Linked DNA regions of Homo sapiens: all the other regions are linked to region 1. Evidence: promoter capture Hi-C in 16 types of primary human blood cells and fetal thymus (Javierre and others, 2016). All regions are on one chromosome and are shown on one strand. Each heading gives the region's core, a stretch centred on a gene start or on the middle of the fragment in contact. The rest is flanking DNA. Distances are from core to core; before and after follow the strand shown. Region 1 holds the start of MXD3 (MAX dimerization protein 3). Region 2 has its middle 6.9 kb from the start of GMCL2. Region 3 holds the start of NHP2 (NHP2 ribonucleoprotein). Region 4 overlaps EIF4E1B (eukaryotic translation initiation factor 4E family member 1B). Region 5 holds the start of N4BP3 (NEDD4 binding protein 3). Region 6 overlaps RNF44 (ring finger protein 44). Region 7 has its middle 40 kb from the start of N4BP3.

Region 1 (2,700 bases), core at 114-2,613:
GCCTGACTGACATGTGCTTGTGTTTACCAGGACTGTCTCTTTACAGAGCATCTATCCCTCCCACCTTCCCTCCCCTCTCTATTTTGGGATTACTGGAGTCACAGACTCAGCCCGTGGCTGGCAGCAATGCTCCACCCTGCTACAGCTGCGTTCATCTTCCTGTCCCCAGATGTGGCCCCACCTGCTGGTGCTGAGGCTAGAAGTCATCACAGCCACTCCTTCGGCCGGCTAGGAGAGTCAGGTGCAAGAAGGGTTTATGGACTCTGAGTAAGGCAAGCAGGGGCTGCCTGGGAGGCAAACGCCGCGGTCTGGTTGCACTGGCCTTTGAGATGGGCGGCTCCTTCATGCCATGGGCACCGCAGAGGCATTGGCTCTGATCCTTCAACGCTGTCGCAGGGCTCCTGAGGCTTAGAGACGGAGGTCACCTCCTGAGTCATACACAGCTGAGACATCAGTGACAGGAGAGGACCCCAACTGCGTGGATACCAGAGCCCAAGGCCCCGGAAAAGGCCATTTCGCGTGCCTCCAGGGTATGGCCTGCCTGAGGAAGCTGTTACCCCACTGACGTTTTCGTAGCAACAACAGCTTCCTCACAGAAGAGGAGGGGGGCCGAGATATTATTCCCATTCGACACAGTAGGAAGCTGGGGCCCACGGGGGCCTTCGGGGGCAGATGGCAGGCAGGCTTGGGGACAGACCCCGGAGGGCAGGAGCCGGGTCCGCCGCCCCTCCGCCGGCGCCTGCGCATTGAGGCCCAGCTCCCCTCTCAACCCCGCCCCATCGCTTGGGTTTTCAAATTTGAAACCTGCTTCTTTTCCCGCCCGAACGTGTGGATCAGCGGCGGGAGAGGGCGGGGCAGAGCGCCAGCCAATAGGGCATCAGAGGCTCCCCGACCCCGCCCCGAGGATGACAACAGCGATCCTTGAGAAGCCATGTGCGAATGGGCGAGCGGCGGCCGGAGGCCCCGCCCCCGCGGCACCCACGTGCAGCGGCTGGGCCCGGCGCTTTCAGGGGACCACCAGGCCCCCAGAGCGCCGTGCTATGTTGGGGGCTAGTCACTAGCACGGGGCTGGAAGCTGAGATCAAAGACGCCAATGAGCCGGCGTGGGTGGATGAGTGAGGCGGGCAAGAAGCAGCACCGGTTAGCCTGAGGGTTCGCTCCAGGGCCAGGCCTGGAGCCAGCGCCCTTACCTGCCCCTGGAAAGTCTGAGACCACTCGGGGCGGGGCGGCTGCCGGAGGGTGGGCTGCGGCTCCGTGGCGGGTTCCAGAGGGGCGGAGCCAAGGGCTGGGCGTTCCCGCGGGCGGGGCGTCCCGGGGGCGGGGCGGGCCCCTGTGTTTGTTGCACCGTGTCAGTTACTTTGTAACAAAAGTGCTGCAGCCGCTTGCTCCGGCCGGCACCCTAGGCCGGCCCGCCGCCAGCTGTCGCCGACATGGAACCCTTGGCCAGCAACATCCAGGTCCTGCTGCAGGCGGCCGAGTTCCTGGAGCGCCGTGAGAGAGGTGAGGAAGGACCCTTGGCTGAATTCCGGGCGGCGACCTCGCTGACACGGGCCTGGACTGGACCTGGCTCCCAGCTTGAAGGATGCACCGCCCTAGGACAGTAATCCCGGGGCGCCTCGCCCTCAACTCGAGAGGAGTCCCGGGGCGGTAGAGCAGGGACGGGTGGGGGAAATGGTCCTGGCGCCAAAAGCCTTTCCTTGACCGTGCTGTGCCTGGGGCTGCCGCTGGGACCAGGTCCAGCCCCAGCCTGACGCGGGCGGGGACTCTCTCTGGCAGAGGCCGAGCATGGTTATGCGTCCCTGTGCCCGCATCGCAGTCCAGGCCCCATCCACAGGAGGAAGAAGCGACCCCCCCAGGCTCCTGGCGCGCAGGACAGCGGGCGGTGAGGAGGCCGGGGGCGGCGGGAGTGGGGGTGGGGGTGGGCGCCGCCCCTGGTCGGGCCCTCCTCTGCCCACTTGTTGCTTGCATCTTTTGGGCCAGGTGTCCCGCTCCAGGAAGCGTTCAGACCCCTCCTGCCATCTCCCCACTCTCCAAACACACTCACACCTTTCTATTCATTCAAGGACTATTTCTTGAGCACCTCTAGATGTGCCGGGAACTGCCAACAGCAGTTGGGGTCCCGCTTCCACTCGCACTCCCGCACCCCACACATCAGGCCACTCACCTCCCCCGCTGGCTTCCTCCTCTTCTCTCCTCTCCCCAGCCCTTTGCATATGCTGTTCCCTCCTATTTGAATGCCCCTCCCTCCAGTACCGGCTTGGGAAACATCTGTTTCCGCAGTTAGCTGTCACCTCTGGGAGGTCCTTTCTGGCCAGCTGGCAGGCGCCCTTGTTAGGGCCCTCATACCCACCTGGGCAGGCTTCTGTTAAGCATTTGGCTCCGTGTGTCTTTGACTCCCCTCGCCCTGCCAGGGGACTCTGGTGTCTGAGGCCAGCATGAGCTCTCCACAGGGGACTTGTTTGGGGCAGACATCTGTAGTGGCTCTTGAGCCACTGGGGGCCCTGGGATTGGGGCATGGGCAGTAGCTGATTCCCCTTCACCTCATCCTCTCTGGCATTGGCAGGTCAGTGCACAATGAACTGGAGAAGCGCAGGTGAGTCCCAGTCCTGCCCTGACAGCGCCAGCCCCCAGGGGCCACTGCCCTCTGGCCTTCCCTCCCCTGCCATTCCTGTGGCCGGCAAGGTGGGGCTGGCACTGCCC
Region 2 (2,700 bases), core at 89-2,588, 880 kb before region 1:
TTATAGGCATGAGCCACCGTGCCCAGATTGAGCCTCAGTTTCTTTTTTTTTTTTTTTTTTTTTGAGACAGACTCTCACTCTGTCGCCCAGGCTGGAGTGCAGTGGTGCAATCTCGGCTCACTGCAAGCTCCGCCTGCTGGGTTCACACCATTCCCCTGCCTCAGCCTCCGGAGTAGCTGGAACTACAGGCACCCGCCACCATGCCCAGCTAACTTTTTGTATTTTTTTTGGTAGAGATGGGGTTTCACCGTGTTAGCCAGGATGGTCTCAATCTCCTGACCTCGTGATTCGCCCGCCTCGGCCTCCCAAAGTGCTGAGACTACAGGCGTGAGCCACCGTGCCCGGCCGAGCCTCAGTTTCTGATTCCACAACAATTCATCTATTCACTCATGTATTTACTCAATTGAATTGTTGACGCTGCAATTGCCAGCAACATGCCCTTGACCTCCAGGACAGACTGGGTCTGTGAACTCTAAACCCTCATGCATAACTGTCCCTTAAACATCTTTACTGAGGCTAAGCAGGGGTTCTCCAGCAGAGATGGAAAAGAAGGGGTGCAGGCAGAGAAGACGACACAGCTCAGGTTCCAAGCTTGAGAAAGCAGAGGCTGCTTGGAGAACTGCAAGTTGCTCCACACGATGAAGAGGAGCTGGGACAGCGCGGCTGGGCAAGGGCTTTGGGTGCCACGACAAAGGGTTCAGATTTATCCCGCAGGAAACTGGAAGTCAGTGAATACTGCTATGGCGGTGGTCCAGTGGAGGAAATGGGAAGGAGGGGATGAACAGAGACATCGAGGAGGGTGAGTTGGCAGAACGTTGTGTTTGTGTGTGGTGACAACCCCCAACTCCATACATGGAGCAGGATGGGCAATAAGGCTGGAACACTGGACCAGAGCCGCTTGGTGGAGGGCCTTGGACTCAGAGGCTTGCTTCTCTCAAGGAGAAACCCTTTCACCCCCTGCTTCCTTGCTATGCCTCCTGCTGGTGGCACCAATTGTCTTGACCATTTTCTTCTAGTATATTTGTCCCTAAAGGCTAGAGAAGGATCAAGAAATGATGCATTTCCAAGATCAAGTCCAGACCTTTTGGTAACAAAGGCTGGCAGAGGGGAAAGTGAGCAGAGCAGCGCTGGGCTTCCAGCCTCCCCGTGCCAGGTCCTTTCACCTCCTCCACCACACCAGCCTTTGGTCTAATCAGACCCAAGGGAAAGAGACAAGGGGCACTCCGAGGTTTTCATCTTCCTACCCAAGTGCTGAGTCTGAAAGACCACAGAGACATAGACACAGAAAGCCTGCCTTTCTCCTGCCAGCCAAGAAATAGGAAGCCACAGACAGGACCATCCCCTCCGCACCTCCCACCTCCCTTCTCCCTGCACAGCAGAGGGGAAGGCAAAGCTGGCTCTGCGGGTGTGAACAGGAAACGCAAGAAGCCCCAGCTCTGGCCGTTCCCAGCACAGGGCCAGGCAAGGCAGGGCTCCCCAGGCAGGGCAGAGGAGGCAGCAGCGGGTGGGGTGTCGAGGACAGAGACTCAGCCTCCAGTCAACACAGGGAAACAGCCAGAGGCCTTCTCCTGCTGTGAAAAGAAAGGATTCTTGGCTTCTTAGGGCTTCATGCCGTGCATGTCTTAACATACAATTTTCATATTCTGCCAGTGAACTGGTCAGAGCCCTTCTCCAACAGGGGCCAGGATGTAGGCTTGGAGTGGAAGACAAATACATGCTGTGTGCTGATCCAGGTGGGTGAGAGACAGAAAGCCCTCAGGGCAGGGTCTCTCTCTTTCATACTCACCACTTGGCCAACTGCTTGGCAACATCTTGCTTTTTAAATTTTATTTATTGATTTATTTTTTATAGAGACGTGGTCTCACTATGTTGATCAGGCTGGTCTCAAACTCCCAGCCTCAAGCAATCCTCCTGCCTTGGCCTCCCAAAGTGCTGGGATTACAGGCATGTGCCACCATGCCCAGCCAACATCTTGCTTCTTGCCACCTGCCTTGCTGCACAGCCTCTTACAGATACCCTCAAACAGCTCAGTCCCCTACCCACAAAGCCTAACCACTCCCTCAACTCACTGCTGCAGAAGCTTCCTCAGTGTGTGCCTCCGTGAACCCTGCCCCTCCACTTCACCTTAATGAGATCCAGCTGTCCCTCCGTGATCCCACACTCCACTGCTGAACACCAGGCCACGCCCTTCCACTTCCCCCCGAGGCAAATCGGGGTCATCTCACTCGGGGCGCTCCACCTTCACTACTAGAGCAGCACTGTATACCAGATACGGATGCAAAACAGCCACAAGTGCAAACACACATGTCATTTAAATTTTTCTAATAGCCACATTAAAAAGTGACTCAACAGTGAGAAGATGCTATGGTTTGGATGTGGTTTGCCCCTACCAAAACTCATGTTGAAATTTAATTGCCAATATAACGGCATTGAGACGTGGGGGGACCTTTCAGGGGTGTTTGGATCATGAGGGATGGGCCTTCACGACAGGATATTAATGCAAGTCCCATAGAAGTGAGTTCTCACTCTCTTGGGTCTGGATCAGTTACCTTCAGAGTTGGGTTGTCATCAAGCAAGGTCGCCCCTCGTGTTTTCCCCCTTTCCTCCAGGTGCCTGGTCCGCCTTCCATTTCTCTGCCACATTTTGGTGCAGCACACAGCTCTCACCAGAAGCTGCCAGATGCAGCCGTCCAATCTGGAA
Region 3 (2,700 bases), core at 173-2,672, 840 kb before region 1:
GAGTGCAGTGGCTATTCACAGGTGCAGTCATGGCTCACTGAAGCCTCTAACTTCTGGGCTCAAGCGAGCCCCCTCTCAGCCTCCCGGGTAGCTGGAACCACAGGCACGAGTCACCACACCCGGGAAAGGCCAATTTTTAAGTTGGTTTAACTGACCTGTGTTCCCACCCACAACTACCGGAACACTTCTAAGTTTCTACTTACTGGCCTGTTCCAGCAACACAAAAATGGCAGGCCTGCCACATCAGGATCAAAGGTAATTAGTATTACAAATTAGTAATTTGCAGCGATTATCTAATTAATATCCATCCAGAGTTCCAAAATATAGTGGAAGAGGCTAATCAGAGATACCAAGATCCACTGGATCTCGGCCTGCCACCGCCCCCCACGCCCTGGCAGCTCTGTCCCTTTACCTTCTACAGACCCGTCCAAAGGGTAGCTCCTCATAGCTCTCACCCTGCACGGCAGGGAGCTCAGTCCCCAAAGCCTTCCCTCCGCTGTTCCCGGCTTCGCTGGAGCCGTCCTTCCCTCAGCCCCGGCTGGCTTCTCGGCTAGGCCCTCTGCATGTGTAGCGTCAGGCAATGGTAAGAACTGCGGGAAAATAGCGGGTGAAGGGATGCTGGTTTGGAGAGAGAGGGGACGGCAATTTTAGATAAAATCACCAGGGAAACCTCTCCCATGGGAAACACTGAAACGGAACCCTGCGGGATGAGAGTGAGCCACACGCTATCTGTGGAAAAGCGGTGCAGACGCAGGTCAGTGGGGTCATCCCTTGCTCTGTATCTTTCACACCTGCGCAGCCGGGTCCAGGGGTCAGAAAACAAAGAAAAATTATGCAAGAAAGGAGGCAGCCTTAGGCCGGGCGCGGTGGCTCACGCCTGTAATCCCAGCACTTTGGGAGGCCGAGGCGGGCGGATCGCCTGAGGTCAGGAGTTCAAGACCAGCCTGACCAACATGGAGAACCCCTGTCTCTAGTAAAAATACAAAATTATCTGGGCGTGGTGGCGCATGCCTGCAATCCCAGCTACTCGGGAGGCTGAAGTAGGAGAATCGCTTGAACCCGGGAGGCGGAGGTTGCAGTGAGTCGAGATTGCGCCACTGTACCCCAGCCTGGGCAATAAGAGCGAAACTCTGCCTCAAAAAAGAAAAAAAACGAGGCAGCCTTTCCAGCACCCAGAGCCCCGCCCTCTCCGGCCCCGATTCCCAGGGCTCCGCCCCTTGCCTCACATTCCCTCCGCTCCGCCCTAATCGGTTCCGCCCAGTCCCTTGGTCCGGGGATGGCCCCGCCTTAAGGACCATGACTCCGCCCCTCTCCGCTCTCCGTAGTTACGAAGCTGGGCGTCAACGATTGGGCTGAGTCGGAGACTTCCTTTCCTGATTGGCCGTGTTGTACGGCGGCTTCTCGCGCAGCTGATGACCTGGAAGTGATGCCTAAAGCTGTGGACCGCGTGGGCTCGCCTCCCTGGGACTAGGTTTCAGCGGCCGCTGCGATGACCAAAATAAAGGCAGATCCCGACGGGCCCGAGGCTCAGGCGGAGGCGTGTTCCGGGGAGCGCACCTACCAGGAGCTGCTGGTCAACCAGAACCCCATCGCGCAGCCCCTGGCTTCTCGCCGCCTCACGCGGAAGCTCTACAAATGCATCAAGAAAGGTGAGGCGGACGGCGGCGTGGCCGGGATGGGTGCGCGGGTGGGATGGGTGCGCGGGTGGCTGAGCGAGGCCCCCGACCGACTCTTCTGTCGTTGCAGCGGTGAAGCAGAAGCAGATTCGGCGCGGGGTGAAAGAGGTTCAGAAATTTGTCAACAAAGGAGAAAAAGGGTAAGAACCTTCCTTCCTCTGGATTTTGCATTTCTAAACGTTAACGGAGAAATCTCTACTTAGTAGGCGCGCAGTAAAAAGGTTAACTCTGACCTAGCCCCATATACAGAAGCCAATCAAGCAGTCGGTAAAGTCCCTTTGGTACAATACCGGTACGACAATACCGGTACACCACGTATACCAGCTCAAAGTGAATTCCAAAGTGAAGCGAATTGTGTAAGCAAAGTCCCTTAGAGTAAACCCACCTTCATTAATTCAGGGACCCTCCTCCCCGGGCTCCGCTCCTTGCCTCAGATTACCTCCGGCCCCCGCCCTAATCCTCTCAGCCCTGAATCTCAGTCCTAGGGATGACCCCTCTCCGGCTCTGTATTTAAGGAACTGAACGTTAACGTTTTTGTTTGTTTTTGAGATGGGTCTAGCTCTCACCCAGGTTGGAGTGCGGTGGTGCGATCACAGCTCGCTGCAGCCTCGTCCCCCTGGGCTCAAGCGATCCTCCCACCTCAGCCTCCCGAATAGCTGAGACCACCGGCTTGCGCCACGCCTGGCTGTTGTTATTGTTGTTTTGCAGAGACAGAGGAGTCTCGCCATGTTGCCCGGGCTGGTCTTGAACTCCTGGGCTCAAGGAATCCTCCTGCCTCAGCCTCCCGAAGCGTTGGGATTACAGGCATGAGCCACCGCGCCTGGCAGCCTTAACAATTGAATGTACTCTTTTTCAGGCACTGTGTTATGGGGGAAACAGTGACATTCATTCATCAGATAATGACACACACACAACTAATTACACGTTGTGATAGATAGCCATGAAGGAAAATAACAGAGTGCAATGATAACTTCATCACCCCACTTTTCTTAATGGCATTTATCAAAGTTTGAACCTTGTTTAC
Region 4 (2,700 bases), core at 198-2,697, 670 kb after region 1:
ACCCATGTGGAAACCCAAAATATGACCCCCTTAATGCAAAAGGAGAGCTGCACTGCCGTAAGAGAAAGTTAGAAATCTGAACGCCAGACCTTCCATACAGGTGGGCAAGGCAGAAGGGAGGGAGGCTATGGAGACTTTCAGAGGTCTCCCATGCAGGCCAAGCCCCCTCCACCCACCTTCCCTCTAGCAGAGACCCAAGTCCCCACCCTGTGCCAGAGACCCTCCTCACCCAACGTGCAGCACGCCCGCCTGGTTTTCCGCCTCCCTCGTCCACACAGCGATCTTGTCCCCCTTGGTGCGGATGTTGACGACGGCCCCACATACCTCTCTGCTGTGTTCCTCAAAGCTCTCCCCGATCAGACACAGCAGCTGGACCCGAAGTAGGGGGTTGTGAGATCACCGGCTGGGACATAGGGACTGGCCTGCCATCCTTGAGACCACTGCCACCATGAGACCCACACAGCCCGTCTCTTCCCCTGAGGACCCTCCTCCTCCAACTCACCGTCTCCAGCCACAGCCGGTCCAGCTCAATGTGGCGCTGCTGCTTGGCCAGGCTGACCAGCCAGCGGCCACCCCGTTTATTCCTGCTGTCCTCCCACATGGGCTGGATGCCATCCTGCAAGGCAGATGGCAAGTCAACTGCCTCCCTGTGTTCAAAGGGAAATGGGGACCCACCCACCATCCCGGCCTTATCCGCTCTCTGCTGAGGCCCTAAGTAGGCCAGATTCTCTTATCCTCCCTTCCCTCAGTGCAAGCAGGTTCCACCCCCAGCCACTCAGCTCCCCCCGACAGACAGCACTGGTCACCTTGTATAGCCTTGTATATGTGCATGTCTCTTTTACTGAGTTCCTTAAGACAAGCATTCAAATCGGGGTGGATTAAGGAAGCCTCAGGGGCAGACCCCAATGCAGGCAAGGGGGACATCCCAGGCTTGGCTGCATGGTTCCCAGGCAGGGCAGAAGTCACTGGGGAGATCTCTAAACACAATGTCAGCCCTCCAGGGATGGGTGTGGCATCAATGAGTGTCCTCAAGCAATTCTGATGCCCTTCCCTAGTTAAGGAGCCAGGTCAGAAATCTCTCCCTCTCCCTCTTCCCGCCTCTTAAGGTCCTCCAAGGTGCGGCTTGGGCCTGACCTACTCTGTCCGGGCTCCTGTAGAGCATTTCCTCCAGTCAGAAACCACAACTCTGCTGAGAGGTGGCCCGTAGCTCCCCACCCCCACCCCTCTGAGGGATTAACGCAGTGGAGTCCGGGAGGGATCAACCCCTTGTCCCTTTGCGGGAGGGAAAGAGGAGAGCAGAGCTTACCTTGAAGAGGGCGTAGTCACAGCCAGAGGAGAGCTTGCTGGCCAGCTGGATGTGACTGTATAGCCTGGACAGAGCCCCCGACCCCATGCCAAAAGTCAAGGCTTTTTAGGGCCTGGTTCCAACTGGGTTCAGCCCTCCCAACTCCTCATCCGACCCCATGGCCTCCAAGCCTTTGCTTACACTGGCCTGCCACCTGGGATTCCACTCCCGTTTATCCAAACTCTCAAGACCCACCTTTTCCACAGAGCCTTCCCAGTGAAGGCTGAGCCAACCCCTGGGGAGGGTTTTAGACCCCCTGGTGCTCCCCCCTCCAGCTACAGCCGAGGCCTTCTCACCCTCCCTAGGGCTTGTGTAGCCCTTTTCAGAGCCACTCCCGTGAGCACCCGGACACTGAGGCAGCCGAGTCCTCCCTTTGCAGCTGAGACAGGTTCAGAGAGGGGAAGGAACTTGCCCAGGTCACAAAGCCCTGGAGTGGCCGAGTCAAGGTCAGCTTCCTGCTTCTCCTGCTCCCCAGGCTCTCTCCCTGAGCCCAAAGAAGGTGGTGGGGTGGGGGGTGGTTGTGCCCTATACCCCCTGGGCAGAACCCACAAAGCCCCAGCCCTCACAAAGGCTGAAAGGCCCTAGGGAGGGCTGGCTCAACCCGGAGAGAGGGAGCCCAGAGCTCAGAGCCCCCCAACTCTAGCCCCACTGGGGACAGACACTCACGCCCAGAAGTCCTCCACAGTGTCCACCTTGGTGACCAGGTGCAGGTTGTCCTGCCAGGCCCGGCTGCGGTCATTCTTGAAGAACCACAGAGCCCACCTGGTAGGGGAAGGGGGAGGCAGCCAGGAGGAAGCAGAGAGCCAAGTCCACCCCCGGGGCACCTGGACTGACAGGGAGGACCCTCCCCTTCAAGGGCGAACTGGGAGATGAGATTTGGGGCACAGCATTCCCCTCTCAGGTGAATGAAATCAGTTGTCCTGAAGGGCAGGGGAGGAGTGGGGGTGTTTGACCCACAGTCTCTGCGGGGTTAGGGCTGGAAGGGCCAACAGGGCCCAAGGCTTAGGTCAGCCCTGGCCTCCCACGGATGAAGAGCTAGGGCCAAGAGAGGCGGGGTTGCCCAAGGCCACGCTGCCAGCACAGAGGCTGGCCTGAAAGCAAGGGGCTGTGTTCCACTCGCAGGCTCCTGCCTACCTGTTCTGCAAGGGGTGCAGCTCCAGCTTGACTTCCATGGGGCCCCCCGTCCGGGCCTTCCCTCTCAGAGACAGCAAAGTCCTGGGAGAGTTTGGAGACTTTTCTCCTGTGGGCGTCCTCTCTGCTGCCTCCTCCTCCTTCTCCTCCTCCTCCCACTCTCGGATTCCACCCTCAGCTTCACTCACCTGAGCCAAAAAAAGGAGTCAGGATGGGTTGTGAGC
Region 5 (2,700 bases), core at 159-2,658, 800 kb before region 1:
GTGTATGTATTGCATATATGTCTGCCCAGCCCTCCATGCCTGTTTCTCCCAAGGACACTTGCAACCAGGCTGCCCTAGACTGCGGTCCACCAGGCCTGGAATCCCTCCTGCTGCCCCCCAGGTCAGGAAGAAATAGAGGAAACCTGCCTCATGGGGACTCCGAGTCGCTATGCTAGCTCTAGAGGCGGTGGCAGAGGCAGGCTGGCCGCATTCATTCACAGTCTGGCACATGCACACCACACGCTGCCAGCCGGTAGAGAAGCCCTGCCTGGGAGGGCCCTGGGAGGAGGCTGATAACCGCGCCCAGGATGGCCTCCTGCGTCCGCTCCCTCCCGAGGACAGCCAGGCCCAATCTGTTCCTATGTGGTTGGGGTCGGGGGGTGGCCCAGTGGGAGGCAACGGGTCTCAGTTCTCTTTCTGGATACAGCCAGGGCCCTGATTTCGGCTTGTCCCCAGGCCAGCCCTCACTTGGGCCAAAGGCTGTGGCCGGGACTGGACCGGGTGCTCTGGCGGTCAAGACCTAGGAATGTCCCCTACCCGCAGACCCGCAGCTGCAGCCTGGTGGACCGGCAGGGGGTTGGGGGATAAAGGAGGTGTGGGAGGAAGCGAGAGATCTCATGGGGAAGTCAGAGGGGCAAACGAGGTTGCATCCCCACGGAATTTGTGTCAGGAAAGCAGGGGTGAAGGCGAGGGTTCCCCAAAGCTGCGGGAGGTCCCGGAGCTACCTGGGGGGCGGGGTGGGAGGCGCGTCTCCTCCTGGCCCCTCCCTGAGGCCTGCCGGGAGCGGCTGGGCCGGGGGGCGGAGGCCGAGGTCAGACGCCGGCGCCAAGGACGCCTGCCCCACCCAGCCGTGGCGCAGGGGTCCCGCGCGCTGCTCCCTGGAAAGCGCGTTTGCAGGGGTTGGGGAGAGCAAGGTAGCCTGCCGCCTGCCCCTCCAGCGGAGCATCGGGGTCGGTCCCCGATCCGGTGCCTCGGTGACCGGGAGCAGGGGACACCTGGGCGCACGCCGCACCTTGCCACCCCCGCCCATCTCTCAGACGGGAGCCTCGGCCAGCGGGACAGCAGCTTTGCCAAGGACGCCCGAAAACAAGACCTTGGCGACCCGCCCCACCCCTCCCCACCCCCCGAGTCCAGCCCGGGTCCCCAGCCCCTCGCGCGCCCCACTTACCATGGTGGCGACGCGCTCGCCGGCCCGCGGCTCCGCAGCCCTTGCGCGTCGCAGCTCCCCCGCGCGGATTTGAACCCTCCTGCAAGGCGTCGGCTCGGGCCGGGACTGCGTGCCGGGTCGGAGCGGCGGAGCGGCAGGCGCCGGGAAAACGCGGGCGGGCGCCGGCGCCGGAGCCGGATTGGCGAGGGAGGGACGCGCTCCGCGGCGCTCGATCGCCTGCCCCAAAGGCGGAGGGAAAACCCGGCCTGACTCACCGGCGCGCGGCAAGCCCACAGCCCGGCCCCGGCCCCCGGATGTGGGGGGCGGGGCCGCCTACCCGCGAGCCAACCTGGGCCCCGCCCGGCCCCGACCGCGCCCCCGGCCCTGACCCGCAGAGGCGCCGCACGGCGGTGGCGGGCGAAACCTGGACCGGCTGCGCCTCGCGTCGCTGCCTCCTTGAGCGCCCCGGCTCGTTCCCGAGGGGTGGGCAGCCCCGAGCGCGGCCCACGCCCCAGAGAGCGCACAGCGCCCCCGCTTCTCCTCCTCCGCCGTTCGCCTCGCCCGCCTCCTCTAAGGAAGAGGCGCGTGAGGTCCCTCACCTCCCTAATTGTAGCCGCCTCCTCTCCGGAAAACCTGATTTCCCCCCTTTGGGGATGAACCACAGTAGTACTTTGAGAAGTGAAAAGATTTTACCCCACGACTCTGGCTGAATTGGGCACAGAGTTATTTTCTTTTTGCCTCCAAAGTATTCTAGGGGCAGCAAAATCAGGTGCCTTCAGGGGCCAGAAAAATTACGCAAATGAGTCGTGAGCTTCCTACTAAGACAGTAGGAAGACATGGAAACAGACACAGACACGTAAAGGAGTCATATTCGAAAAATTAAAACACCGTTTCTAATTCAAAAGTTAAGCATAGAGTTACCATATGATCCGGCAATTATAGTCCTCAAACAAGTAATGTTCTTGGCAGTACTAGTCACAATAGTCAAAGAGCCAAAAGGTGGAAACAGCCCAAACTAACAATTGATGAGGGTGTAAGCAAACAATGGTAGATCCATTCAGTGGAATATTATTCAGCCATAAAAAAGAAATGAACGCCATGTGATGACTCATGTCTGAACTCTCCCAGCACTTTTGGAGGCCAGGAGTTCAGGAACAGCCTGGGCAACTCACAAAACTCCATCTCTATCTTAAAAAAAAAAAGACCTGATGTGGTGGCTCACCCCTGTAATCCTAGCATTTTGGGAGGCCGAGGCAGGCGGCTCACTTGAGGTCAGGAGTTTGAGACCAGCCTGGCCAACATGGCGAAATTCTATCTCTACCAAAAACACCAAACATTAGCCAGGCATGGTGGAGCGAGCCTGTAATCCCAGCTACTCGGGAGGCTAAGGTAGGAGAATTGCTTGAACCCAGGAGGCAGAGTTGCAATGAACGGAGATTGTGCCACTACACTCCAGCCTGGATGATGGCGTAAGCCTGTCTCAAAAAAAAAAAGAAAGAAAAGAAAAGAAAAAGAGGAATGAAACACTGATGATACCTGCTACAACATGGATA
Region 6 (2,700 bases), core at 165-2,664, 780 kb after region 1:
GGTGTAAGGCAGAGAAAGGTCTGGCCCTAAGCCCCTTTCCAAGACAGGGTGCCCTGAGACCCCGCCCAGCAGGAGCCTACCAGGAACCCACTGGCTTGGAAGCACGCTGGCCAGCTCGCTGAGCTCCGCAACTGAGGGGGACTGGGTCCCATTTCACACAGCAGGAGGGTGAGGCCTGGGTGCTGGCAGGCTGAGCTGTCCTGGCGTGTCAGCACTGGACCCCAGGGCTCGGAGGAGGGGCACGGCTGAACACCATTGGTCCCTGGGGTCACACTGCAGAGGTTTGGTTCTGTCTCCTGACCCCTCATGGCACAAGCGCCTGGACTTCTCTGTGCCTCAGTTTCTTTCTTTTTTTTTTTTTTTTTTTGAGACGGGAGTCTCGCTCTGTCACCAGACTAGAGTGCAGTGGTGCGATCTCAGCTCAGCTCACTGCAACCTCCGCCTCCCGGGTTCAAGCGATTCTCATGCCTCAGCCTCCCAAGTAGCTGGGATTACAGGTGTCCACCACCATGCCTGGCTAGTTTTTGTATTTTTAGCAGAGACGAGGTTTCACCATGTTGGCCAGGTGCCTCAGTCTTCTTGTCTCCTTGCCTCCTAGGGTTGTGAGTCCCGGCCCAGCCCCTCCACCCCCCTGCCCCCCCGATGCGACCATGGGCTCTGGCAGTGACTAGGTGGCCACCCTCCGCCCCCGTGGGCCAGCGGCGATTCTCTGCGGGACCTGGCAGCACCCCGGGCCAGCTCTGGGGAAGGTAGGAAGGAGCCTCCCAGTCCTGGTGCTGGGGCATGGGGGCCAGCAGGGGTGGGGCGCAGGGCCCTGAGCTGCCTTCCCTCCCCATGGGGGGAGTCACCCTGGCTTCTCTCCCTGCTCTGTGCACGAGTGGCCCCCCTCAGTCCTATCGGGGCCTCCTCTCTGTGGTGCAGCCCTGGCCTCGAGGGCCCCCTGGCCAGCCCGCCTGCCCGGGATGAGCGCTTACCCTCCCAGCAGCCGCCGTCCCGACCTCCACACCTCCCCGTAGAGGAGCGCCGAGCCTCGGCTCCTGCCGGCGGGAGCCCCCGAATGCTGCACCCAGCCACCCAGCAGAGCCCGTTCATGGTTGATCTCCACGAGCAGGTAGGCAGAACCCCATCCCCTGTGCCCCTGGCCCTGTGAGCCAGTCTGAGAGGCAGAGGCAGCAAGGCCTAGATTTCACCTAGCTTGCTTCATTTCACGTTCCAGGGAGGCATTATTGGCCCTGCTTTACAGGTAGGTAAACTGAGGCCCGGGGAAAGGGCCACACTGGGTGACTAGCAGAGCTAGATTCCCACGGGGCTTTCTCTGCCCCGGGGGCCTGGGAGTAGAGGCACAGTCTGGTCTGCACTGAGGTAGGCCGCCGTGGAGAAGGGAAGGGAGCCGGCAGCTGGATGTGGCAGGATGATTTCTCCTGAGAGTAGCCCTCGCGGTCAGCTTCCTTTTCATACTTTCCCGGCGTTCTCTCCACCCACAGGTGCACCAGGGACCTGTCCCTCTGTCCTACACGGTCACCACAGTGACGACCCAAGGCTTCCCCTTGCCTACAGGCCAGCACATCCCTGGCTGCAGTGCCCAGCAGCTCCCAGCATGCTCCGTGATGTTCAGTGGGCAGCATTACCCCCTCTGCTGCCTCCCGCCCCCGGTGAGTGAGTGTTTCTAGCTCCTCCTCCACCAGCTGCAAGCCCCAGGCACAGGCCAGCGGCTCAGCGGGCCCAGGGCAGCCCTGAACTGGGCTGAGCTATCCAGCCATCCAGGCTGTCAGAGCGCCTGCCTGGCCTCCCCAGGAAAGCATACGCGTGTTCACATTTGGTAATAGAGTGTTTCAAGGTTCAGGAACCTTCCAGTACCCCTGTACCTGCCTCACAGCTTGGCAGAGGCCCAGGAGTTGAGGCTGTGGGCCTTAACAGTGGAGTGTCCTGCCTGGGTGGCCTAGGACAGGGATGGGCCTTCCACAGGGTTTCTTATACAGACCCTGGAGCTGCTGGGTGTGTGCCCGGTGGGGGCCTTTTGCTGGGTGGCATGGCGTAGACCTGGCCCAGAGCCCAGGAGAACGTTCTCAGCCCCCTGCCCCCTCTCTTGGCAGCTTATCCAGGCGTGCACCATGCAGCAGCTGCCTGTGCCCTATCAGGCCTACCCCCACCTCATCTCCAGTGACCACTACATCCTGCACCCCCCACCACCGGCCCCACCCCCCCAGCCCACCCACATGGCGCCCCTGGGGCAGTTTGTGTCTCTGCAGACCCAGCACCCTCGGATGGTGAGTCGGCATGGGTCCGATGCTGGAGGGAGATGGCGTGGGGGGAGGCAGGGTGAGGACAGCCTCGTCTCACTGACTTGCTGACCCGGCGCTGGTTCTTCCAGCCCCTCCAGCGGCTCGACAACGACGTGGACCTGCGTGGGGACCAGCCCTCCCTGGGCAGCTTCACCTACTCCACCTCTGCGCCTGGCCCAGCCCTTTCCCCGTCGGTGCCCCTGCACTACCTGCCCCACGATCCGCTGCACCAGGAGCTGTCCTTTGGTGTGGTGAGTGCCACCCCGACCCCCACCTGGGCTCCAGGGCAGCTGGGAGGCAGACCCGCTGGGCCGACCTGCATCTGGGCTCCCAGGCAGCTGGGAGGCAGGCCCACCGGGCTGACTTGCACGTGGGCTCCGGGGCGGCTGGGAGGCAGGCCTGCTGGGCTGACTTGCAC
Region 7 (2,700 bases), core at 170-2,669, 760 kb before region 1:
CAGATGGGGGAGCCAGAAGGGAGATGGTTTTCTCCTGGAGTCGGGCCACTCGGTGGCCCGAGATCTCCTCCAACTGCCCCAGCCAAACGCTACGTCATTCTACCAGTCGATGGCCTGCCAGCATGCCTGTCGGTGTGTTCCTCTCCACATCCAGCCTCCTGTGTGTCTTCTGGCTACAGTCTTGGGGTTTTTTCCAGGCACAAGATAGGGGTGTGGCAGGCCAGGGTGGTCTTGGGAAATGCAACATTTGGGCAGGAAAACAAAAATGCCTGTCCTTACCTAGGTCCGTGGGCACAGGCTGGGGGTGGAGTCCTAGCCAGGGACCATGAACTCCTCTACCCAGCACTTCCTTTCCCCTCTTCTGTATCATTTAAAGGGACCACACTCTTCCCTTCCCAGCACTTCCCTTCCATATCACTAATATATGGAATTAAAAAAAAATTTTTTTTGAGGCGGGGTCTCACTCTGTCACAGAGGTTGGAGTGCAGTGGCATGATCTCGGCTCACTGCAACCTCTGCCTTCCAGGTTCAAGCGATTCTCATGCCTCAGCCTCCCAAGTAGCTGGAACTACAGGCATGCACCACCATGCCCAGCTAATTTAACACCTGGCTAATTTTTGTATTTTGAGTAGAGACGGGGTTTCGCCATGTTGGCCAGGCTGGGTTCGAACTCCTGACCTCAGGTGATCCGACCGCCTCAGCCTCCCAAAGTGTTGGGATTACGGGTGAAAGCCACTGCGCCTGGCCTAAAACATTTTTGTAAAAGATTTATCTATGATTCTTAGCTGATGTATCTTGAAAATTTGGGTAGTGCCAGAAAATATTGCAGTGATACTGGATGGTATGTTTACATTCCAGTGACAGGCAGAGCTTTAGGGAATCAGTTTCCAGGACTCAACTTCCATATGTCTTCTTGCCTAAAGTTGGCCAGGCTGGAACAGCATCTGAGGTGACAGTCTCTCTTCTCCATGATGCCTGCCCCAGATGTCACTGTGTGGGGTTGTCCCCCTTTGATGAAGTTCTGAAGGTAGGGGCATGGGAATGAGGTTAGGGAATTCAACGCAATTTTTTTTTTGAGACAGGGTCTCACTCTCTTGCCCAGGCTGAATACAGCACAATAGCAATCATGGCTCACTGCAGCCTCAGACTCCCGGGCTCAAGCAATCGTCCCACTTTAGCCTCTCTAGCAACTGGGACTCCAGGCATGCACCACCAGGCCCGGCTAATTTTTTAATTTTTATGTTTATTTTTGTAGAGACAGGACCTTGCTATGTTGCCCAGGCTGGTCTTGAACTCCTAGGCTCAAGCGATTCTCCTGCCTCGGCCTACCAAGTAGCTGGGACTACGGCCGTAAATCACCATGCCCGGCTAAGATGGCAATTTAAATTTAGTTCACTGCTTTGCATTTCACACCTCCTCTTTTGTCTAGAAATGCATCTTTCTGGAGGGAATCCCCTAAGAGCAAAGCCAAGAGAGCTACATAGAAAATACCAGCCCCTTTGGAAGCGCTTCTGTCCCTGTTCTCAGCGCTCATCTTAGGACGCGTCCTTAGCAGGACAAGCCTCAGAGCATCGGGAGCAGCAGAGGGTGGTGGTGCTGAGTCTTGCGTGGAGCCGGCCTGTTCTCTGGGAATACCAGCGTTTTCAGACATGTTGGCTGGAACTCACAGATGATATTTTTGTGAGATTTATTTCAGATGCTGTGTGTTAGTCAAGAACGGAGCCAAACTCTTTCGTCAAATCATATAATGGAATATATATATTTTCCTTTTATTTCATCTTTAAAATGTTTAATATTTTCTTTAAATGAAAAACAATTAAAATTTTTATATATTTATTTTTTGAGATAGGGTCACCTGGACTGGAGTGCAGTGGTGTAATCATAGCTTGTTGTAACCTCGAACTCCTGGGCTCAAAGTATCCCCTCACCTCAACCTCTTGAGTAGCTGGGACTATAGGCACTTGCCACCACACCTGAGTTTTATTTTTTATTTTTTTTGTAGAGAGGAGGTCTTGTTATGTTGCCCAGATTGGTGCTTAAACTCCTGGGCTCCAGTGATCCTCCTGCCTTGGCCTCCCAAAGTGCTGGGATTACACACATAAGCCACAGCCTTCTTTGCTTTGCTCCTAGGGGATTCCCTCAAGAGGAATGCATTTCTAGACAAAAGGGGAGGTGGGAAGTCACCCTGGATATAAAATATTTAATATTTTCTTTTCTATTTCTGTTATAAAAAGAGGCCAGGCATGGTGGCTCACACCTGTAATCCCAGCACTTTGAGAGGCCGAGTAGGGCGGATCATCTGAGGTCAGGAGTTCAAGACCAGTCTGGCCAACATGGCGAAACCCTATCTCTACTAAAAATACAAAAATTAGCCAGGCATGTTGATGGGCACCTGTAATCCCAGCTACTCGGGAGGCTGAGGCAGGAGAATTGCTTGAGCCTGGGAGATGGAGGTTGCAGTGAGCCAAGATCTCACCACTGCACACCAGCCTGGCCAACAAAGTGAGACTCTGTCTCAAAAAAAAAAAAAAAAAAAAAAATCTGGTGGTAGTAAGAAACTGTTTCAATACTTAGATTTCATTGGGTCCATTTAAAAGATGAATGAAATAGTTTTTATTTTAAATGTCAATCATTACAATAGTTGGGAAATTACATCTCTTGCAACAATTTAAATGTATAGTGAAAATTTCATATATCATC

The links. Contacts are between HindIII fragments. The CHiCAGO score rates a contact against its expected background, and 5 or more counts as called.
Region 2: a contact is called between a fragment that was not itself captured here and the fragment with the promoter of MXD3 in region 1, in 1 of 17 cell types (non-activated CD4 T cells). The highest score is 5.7, in non-activated CD4 T cells.
Region 3: the fragment with the promoter of NHP2 here is called in contact with the fragment with the promoter of MXD3 in region 1 in 2 of 17 cell types (total B cells and total CD4 T cells); the score reaches 6.3 in total B cells.
Region 4: a contact is called between a fragment that was not itself captured here and the fragment with the promoter of MXD3 in region 1, in 2 of 17 cell types (megakaryocytes and fetal thymus). The highest score is 5.7, in megakaryocytes.
Region 5: the fragment with the promoter of N4BP3 here is called in contact with the fragment with the promoter of MXD3 in region 1 in 2 of 17 cell types (naive B cells and total CD4 T cells); the score reaches 7.7 in naive B cells.
Region 6: a contact is called between a fragment that was not itself captured here and the fragment with the promoter of MXD3 in region 1, in 1 of 17 cell types (monocytes). The highest score is 6.8, in monocytes.
Region 7: a fragment that was not itself captured here is called in contact with the fragment with the promoter of MXD3 in region 1 in 6 of 17 cell types (total B cells, naive B cells, total CD8 T cells and 3 more); the score reaches 14.5 in total B cells.

What each region holds. Positions count from the first base shown.
Region 1 is chr5:177,310,561-177,313,260 of GRCh38, reverse strand. MXD3 (MAX dimerization protein 3) reads left to right here and starts at 1,363. Exons shown (of 6, transcript NM_031300.4): 1 at 1,363-1,500; 2 at 1,777-1,882; 3 at 2,564-2,593. The coding sequence starts at 1,431. RefSeq lists enhancers at 229-288, 1,939-2,138, 2,396-2,700 and silencers at 509-1,078, 1,209-1,388. The HindIII fragment of the contact is 10,591 bases long and covers 1-2,700 here.
Region 2 is chr5:178,192,968-178,195,667 of GRCh38, reverse strand. No RefSeq gene overlaps it. Among named protein-coding and RNA genes, the nearest start is that of GMCL2, 6.9 kb to the right of the region's middle. The HindIII fragment of the contact is 1,489 bases long and covers 594-2,082 here.
Region 3 is chr5:178,152,607-178,155,306 of GRCh38, reverse strand. NHP2 (NHP2 ribonucleoprotein) reads left to right here and starts at 1,422. Exons shown (of 4, transcript NM_017838.4): 1 at 1,422-1,649; 2 at 1,747-1,816. The coding sequence starts at 1,490. The HindIII fragment of the contact is 33,810 bases long and covers 1-2,700 here.
Region 4 is chr5:176,643,046-176,645,745 of GRCh38, reverse strand. It overlaps EIF4E1B (eukaryotic translation initiation factor 4E family member 1B), which reads right to left. Exons shown (of 9, transcript NM_001099408.2): 4 at 2,480-2,664; 5 at 2,012-2,107; 6 at 1,307-1,370; 7 at 503-616; 8 at 230-369. Among named protein-coding and RNA genes, the nearest start is that of TSPAN17, 3.1 kb to the left of the region's middle. RefSeq lists enhancers at 1-439, 1,021-1,660, 1,661-2,302. The HindIII fragment of the contact is 4,593 bases long and covers 1-2,700 here.
Region 5 is chr5:178,112,240-178,114,939 of GRCh38, reverse strand. It overlaps N4BP3 (NEDD4 binding protein 3), which reads right to left and starts at 1,408. Exons shown (of 5, transcript NM_015111.2): 1 at 1,169-1,408. RefSeq lists enhancers at 179-238, 1-280 and silencers at 319-368, 719-1,038, 1,119-1,668. The HindIII fragment of the contact is 16,661 bases long and covers 1-2,700 here.
Region 6 is chr5:176,530,415-176,533,114 of GRCh38, reverse strand. It overlaps RNF44 (ring finger protein 44), which reads left to right. Exons shown (of 11, transcript NM_014901.5): 2 at 599-749; 3 at 922-1,111; 4 at 1,485-1,652; 5 at 2,094-2,267; 6 at 2,372-2,533. The coding sequence starts at 643. Among named protein-coding and RNA genes, the nearest start is that of RNF44, 5.6 kb to the left of the region's middle. The HindIII fragment of the contact is 9,510 bases long and covers 1-2,700 here.
Region 7 is chr5:178,071,860-178,074,559 of GRCh38, reverse strand. No RefSeq gene overlaps it. Among named protein-coding and RNA genes, the nearest start is that of N4BP3, 40 kb to the left of the region's middle. The HindIII fragment of the contact is 3,898 bases long and covers 1-2,700 here.